2 separate regions of the Homo sapiens genome follow, and region 1 is linked to region 2. The links are contacts of gene promoters, found by promoter capture Hi-C in human tissues and cell types (Jung and others, 2019). All regions are on one chromosome and are shown on one strand. The core of a region is centred on a gene start or on the middle of the fragment in contact, and the rest is flanking DNA. Distances in the headings are between cores, read along the strand shown.

What was found. The method cuts DNA at HindIII sites, captures the fragments that hold promoters and counts their contacts. A contact is called where the count stands out against the background at its distance.
Region 1: a fragment that was not itself captured here is called in contact with the fragment with the promoter of CREB3L1 in region 2 in 2 of the 25 tissues and cell types used here (dorsolateral prefrontal cortex and hippocampus).

The regions. Positions count from the first base shown.
Region 1 is chr11:46,085,265-46,088,323 of GRCh38, reverse strand. All of the region lies in intron 3 of PHF21A (PHD finger protein 21A), which reads left to right. Among named protein-coding and RNA genes, the nearest start is that of PHF21A, 35 kb to the left of the region's middle. The HindIII fragment of the contact is 3,241 bases long and covers 1-2,876 here.
Region 2 is chr11:46,275,947-46,279,163 of GRCh38, reverse strand. CREB3L1 (cAMP responsive element binding protein 3 like 1) reads right to left here and starts at 1,502. Exons shown (of 12, transcript NM_052854.4): 1 at 951-1,502. The coding sequence starts at 1,052. The HindIII fragment of the contact is 8,009 bases long and covers 1-3,217 here.

The sequences.
Region 1 (3,059 bases), core at 7-2,506, 190 kb after region 2:
CAAGTGGCCTTGCTGATAGTGACTTGTAGAGCTGTTGGATGGTGAGAGTCACTCATTATGGTGGAATGCAGTGTGTTACTGTCTTGTGAGTCTGATGGTATTCACTTTGCAGCAACTGATTTGTTATTTATAACTTGTTAGAATTGGTCAAAATATGTTAAATCATCTTTTACAAATGTAGCCAATAATTCTTTTGATGCTATAAACTGCCTCCCAGTGGTATTCAGATGACTGCATGAGATGTCCAAGACCTCAAAATATTTTTTCAGCTGGGTGCAGTGGCTCACACCTGTAATCCCACACTTTGGGAGGCTGAAGGTGGATGGGTCACTTTAGCCCAGGAGCTCAAGACCAGCCTAGGCAACATGGCGAAACCCTGTCACTACAAAAAAATACAAAAATTAGCCAGGTATGGTGGGGCACACCTGTAGTCACAGCTACTCAAGATGCTAAGGCAGGAGGATCACTTGAGCCCAGCAAGTTGAGGCTGCAGTGAGCCGTGATCGCACCACTGCACTTTAGCCTGGGTGACACAGTAAGACCCTATCTCAGGAAAAAAATTTTTTCAAAATATTCAGCATGTATTCGTGACCAGCCTGGGCAACATATGAGACCCCTTCTCTACAAGAAAAAATAAAATTAAACAAACAAGATTCAACATGTACCTGCCTTGTTTTTGTAAACTATAAATACATGTCTGTAATTTGTTTCTTTCCGCACAGACCAGTCTCTTAAAATTACTATCCAGAAAGAGATCTTTCTGAAGAAAAGAAAAAGAATTTCAAATGAATCTTCTAATCCTTCATATGTTTTTCTACAACTAGTCCTAACTTTTTTAACCCTTTTAGTTTTATTTTGAAATAAAATGAGTAATTGGCATTTAGAGTCCTTGCTGAATAAAACTTCATGCCTTTGTGTATCTCTGAGAAGCAGACAACAATCTGATGGAGAAAGTAAAAGCCATCGGCTCCTCATTAACTTGAGTTGCAGGCTTATTATTGTGCGAGGCACTCTTTGACATTTACAGTCTTCAAGTTAAACCCTGGTTTTAACTTTTTCTTTTCCTGAGCATTTTGTTTGATAGTATAATGTTTTCTGATGCTTTATCTACAAATCCTTGGTTAATGTCTTCTTGTTTAAAAAGATGTGCATATTTTTTATGGAAAATTTTGAAAATATCAATACCCCAAAAAGAAGAAAGTAAATAACTGACAGTGCTACTACCTAGAGATAACCATCAGCAAATTGCGAAGTGGCACCTGACACAAATTCTAGACAGCTCAGAGTATTATTATCTTATAGGTCTTCAGTTTGATAGACAAAGCATATAATCTTAGTTATATTTCTGTGTCTTAAAAGATGGAAGTTTTTCATGTTTGTTGGTCATTCTTATTTCTTCTGTAAATTGTTTTTTCATAGATTTTTGTTATCAATTTTTGAGGGCCCTAAATATATAAACTGTATTAGCCCTTTGTTATGTATAATGTTAAGTTCTTTGTGTTTTAACCTGCCGTTCATTTCCAGAGTTTATGTGAATTGAATTGAACTATGGTTTTATGTTACTGTCAGTAGAATGAAGTACGAATATTTGAAAAATACACCTTCAACTTCAAAGTGATTCTTGACAAAAATTATAAGGAATCATTTTGGACACATTTTCTGGTAGAGCCTTGTAAAAATTAAAACCAAGTGTTGTTTTCAAGAAGAACTGTAATACATAATCAGGAATTTGAGTAGGGAGATTATTTTGTTATTTAAAATTAAAGTGGCTGTGTAGTTTTAACTTTAGTATTGCAGGTAGAGTAAGCTTACATGATAACAAAAATCTTGGTCTTAGTGACTTAATGATTCTGATATTTATTGATTGATTGGTTATCATTCCAAATATTTTAAAAGATAATAGCTGGCTGGGTGCGGTGGCTCATGCCTGTAATCCCAGCACTTTGGGAGGCCAGGACGGGCGGATCACGAGGTCAGGAGATCAAGACCATCCTGGCTAACACGGTGAAACCCCGTCTCTACTAAAAATACAAAAAAATTAGCCGGGTGTAGTGGCGGGCACCTGTAGTCCCAGCTACTCAGGAGGCTGAGGCAGGAGAATGGCATGAACCTGGGAGGCGGAGCTTGCAGTGAGCTGAGATCGTGCCACTGCACTCCAGCCTGGGCGACAGAGCGAGACTCTTTCTCAAAAAAAAAAAAAGATAGTAGCTAAAACTACCCAGATTTGTTCACCATAGTATGTCTCCCTTTCTAAATTGTTAATAACTCCCTTAAATATACTGCCTTTTAAAATGTTTTGTTTAACATTATCATTATACAGTAAATTTTTCCTATCCTTTGCAAATGTGAATTTAAAGGAATTTTGCACTTTTGGAATTTATTCTTTTTTAGGTTTGAGTATTTTGATGTTATATAATCTAGTATATAAGCCCTGAGAGAGAGATTTCTGCTGATGTTTTATGCCTAATGAGAATAAGCAAATATATTGAAAACTCATATTCACAAGAATATACTCCCTAGTTAATGATTCCATTATAACTCTGTTAAACCAGTTTTCAAAGGACTCTTAGAAAACTTAGGTTGAATATAGACTGTACCCATAGGTAAATAATATTTAGAAATATGAAGATCATGAATCTTATTGTATTGGTTTAAGGAGTAGTGGTTCCTCTAACTTCCTGATTGTTCCATTCCCCAATTTATATGAATGCTAAAAAGCTGCTCTAGCTACAAGCTTTATAGGTGCAAAGAAGAAAAGAAATTTGAAGTAAAATTTAAATTTATTCAGGCAAAAACAGACTTTTGCTTTGACAGAGTACCTAAAATCATGTCTAAGGCCACATTCAAGAAAAGAAAACAACAATAAAGGATAAATTAGCCATCGAAATAATTTAAATTAGAGCAGTGATGACTGAGGGAGATAGGAAGGTCAAGCTGGGTGTCATATTAACAGATTTAGACTTTTGACATTATCTCCACATGCCATTATATGTATAGTCAAAGAGATGACTGGCAAGCTTGAAAGAAGATGATTTTCATTGTAAAGCTGGACATGTGTT
Region 2 (3,217 bases), core at 253-2,752:
CAGGCATGCACACGCAACTGGTGGTTCACTGAAGAGGGGGCTCCCACTAGACTCCCCAAACAATCCACATTTCATCTGGGCAGGCCCTTCTGAACCCAAATATTTTCTCCCATTCTAAGTCCGTGCCCCTCCCCCATCAAGGCCTTAGGGCTGAGCCTGAGAGAGGGAGGGAGGGAAGAAGAGAGAGAAGCCACGTTTCCTTAGGGAGGGAGGGGAAGAGTGAGAAAGAGGAGAAAGACAAGCTCACAGTCGGACCTAGTCAAGAAGACATAGGGAGAGGGAGAAAGTCAGCCAGACTCCAGGAACAGAGGGACAGAGCAGAGATCTAGAGGCAGATGGAGAGAAATGGCTCCCTCCTCCTGAGCCATCACCCTATGTTGCCCTGACCGCCTCTTCCCAGCCCCCAGCCTCAGGTCCCTCCCTGGGGTGGGGGGTCTCTGGGCCTGATTCCCTGGGGCTGCCAGGGTAGCACCCTGAAATTTCTGGGCCTGGCTTCCCCGAGGGGTCGGGTCTCAGGCCCTCTGAACGTTCCCCGGTGCGCCCCCCAGCGGAGATCCAGCCTATGAGCCACCGAAGCCCCAAGGGAGGCGCAGGAAAGGGCGCTGCCACTTTGCGCCCAGTCTGGTCCTGGAACCTGGGGTGGGTTGGGGACGGCTAGAAGACGTGGGTGGAGGGCGGGATTGGTGTCTCTTGAGCTCAGATCCGAGGATCGGACGGACCCGATACCTCGATGGCCCCTTCCCCCTAGAAGGTGGAGGCCAGTGTATTCAAAGATTGAGCCCCCAGGAGGGGCGCTTAGCTCCAAACACATGTCGCTCCTGGAGACCCTGCGCTGAACCCTCTCCCCGGCTCCTGCCCAGTGATGTGTAGTCGGGTCCTTCTAGGGGCCCAGGCGCGCCGCGAGGACGGGTGCCGAGGGGTGGAACGGGAACGGAGACCCTTCATCTTACCGCATTGTTGAGGAAGTCCGACTCGTTCAGATCCCCCAAGTCCAGGAAGCTGGATCCGGGGAACAGCCTGTCGGCCGGGAAGGGTTCCAAGACGGCGTCCATCGCAGCCGGCTCCCGGGACCCCCTTCCACTGGGCTTCCCTCACTCCAGGGCGGCGGCGCGCCCAGTCCAGAGCTCCTGCCTGAGCGCTGGCAAACGGGCGGGGGGCAGGTCCGGGGCGAAGCCCCGGGGGAGGGGCGGACGGAGGCGGCGCGGCCCCGGGTGGGGGGCGCGGGGCGCGCGGGGGCCTTAGGGCAGCGGCTAGGAGCGGGATGGGCTCAGGGGCCCCGGGCGCACCGTGGGCATTCAGCCGACTCCACCTCCTCCTGCTCCTCCTGGGGCACAGCTGGCTTCCATGGGGAGCCCGGGGTTGGGGCTGAGGGCTTCAGGAGCCCCCCGGACAGGGTGGGAGCCGGGGCGGGGGAGCTAAGTGCTCCCCCGAGACTGGGTGGCTGCCGGCCTCTCCTCTGTCTCTGCGTCTCCCTCCGCACGTCTTCTGTCACTTTCCTCTCTGTGAAACCGGGAACCCCTGGCTGGCTAGCCCAGCTGGCCAAGGCGCCACGCCCCCACATCAATATTCACAATAATTTAATATTAATGAGAAGAGGGCGTGGCTCGAGGAATCCTCTCTCCTTTTTTAAAGAGACATCTGCAACTTCGTCTTAGTAATCTCTCTTCTCTGAATGCTCAAGGTGGGGGCTTAAAGCAACAATAGTCCTGGAACCGATAACAGTGTTCCTGGAACATTGGCATTTTAAGGCTTCACCAACCACTGTCCCGTAAATTGATGAGGGAGCTATTTCCATCCTTCCAGCCTTATACTAAAGCCTGCACGAAACCCAGTCAGGGAATTCCATTTCACAGTCCCCTCAACAGATCTCCCCTCAACGGGGGAGATTTTCAGCTTTTTAAAAATTTTATTTATTATTATTACTATTTTTTTGACACGGAGTTTCGCTCTTTTTGCCCGGGCTGGGGTGCAATGGTGTGTTCTCGGCTCACTGCAACCTCCGCCTCCCAGTTTCAAACGATTCTCCTGCCTCAGCCTCCTGAGCACCTGGAATTACAGGCGCGCCCCACCACGCCCAGCTAATTTTTGTATTTTTAGTAGGGACGGGGTTTCACCATGTTGGCCAGGCTCCTCTGGAACTCCTAACCTCAGGTGATCCGGCCTCCTTGGCCTCCCAAAGTGCTGGGATTACAGGTGTGAGCCACCATGCCCAGCCGATTTTCAGCTTGTAACTCTCATTTCTCATCTCACCTGTTTCTTCTTCCAGGAAGCCTTCCCTGAACCCCCAGGCTGGAGCAGTTACCAACGGTATACACCCACAGGGCATCATGTGCTCACCTCCACTGTTTCCAGTCTAATGTGGTATTGTCCTTATTTGCTCACATTGTTTGTATCTGTGACCCCACTGAGCTGTGAGGCTCCTCAGGGCAAGGACAGTCCCCAGCTTCCCTCTGTGTGAAAGGGCTGGGTGAACAGCCAGAGATAGGAGAGTCCCCCTCTTCTCCTCGATAGTCAAGTCCCTCCCTACCCCCCAATGGTTCTGAAGAGCAGGAAGTTGGAAAACAGTGGTTCTGGAATCTGAATGAGCCAAGGTGCTGGCTGGCTGCACACTCCACAGTCACCAGACACTCCCAGGGCCCCGGGATCCATTACCTAAGTGGCTTGCTCCTGCGTACAAACTTAATCTCTTGAAAGGGCTGATAGCAATCGCCAAGCACCTGAACAAATGGAGGTGGTTCAGAAAGGCACTCCCTCAGAGGGCTGGGCACACTGTTTCCTGACCAGAAGTTATTAATAAGATTAAGCATGTCCTTTCTGTCTGGGACGTTTAATTAGCTCAGGAACCAAAGGCCTTTAAGAGGTAGAGATGTCATTGCAGCTAAGCCATGGATGTCACCAAAATTGCTCTCAGCACCAGGTGGGAGAAGGGTTCATACCAAGGCTGAGACAGCAGTTGTTTGCTTCCCTGGCAGGCAGGCAGTCACGTGGCTTTTCCCCACCTTATGATCTAGTTGACATAGTTCTGGAGAGTGAAGTTCTGACCTTCCAGGCTGTCACATGACTGTTAGCTCCCAGGCCTCCTGTAGAATTTGCTCCTGAGAAAGTAGGATTATAACCCATGCTCTGGGGACCAGTTCACCAGCCATGCAACTCCGAGAAGTAAGGCTGGGCCAAAAAGAAATCAATTCACTTTCACAACAGTGGCGGGTAGAATTAG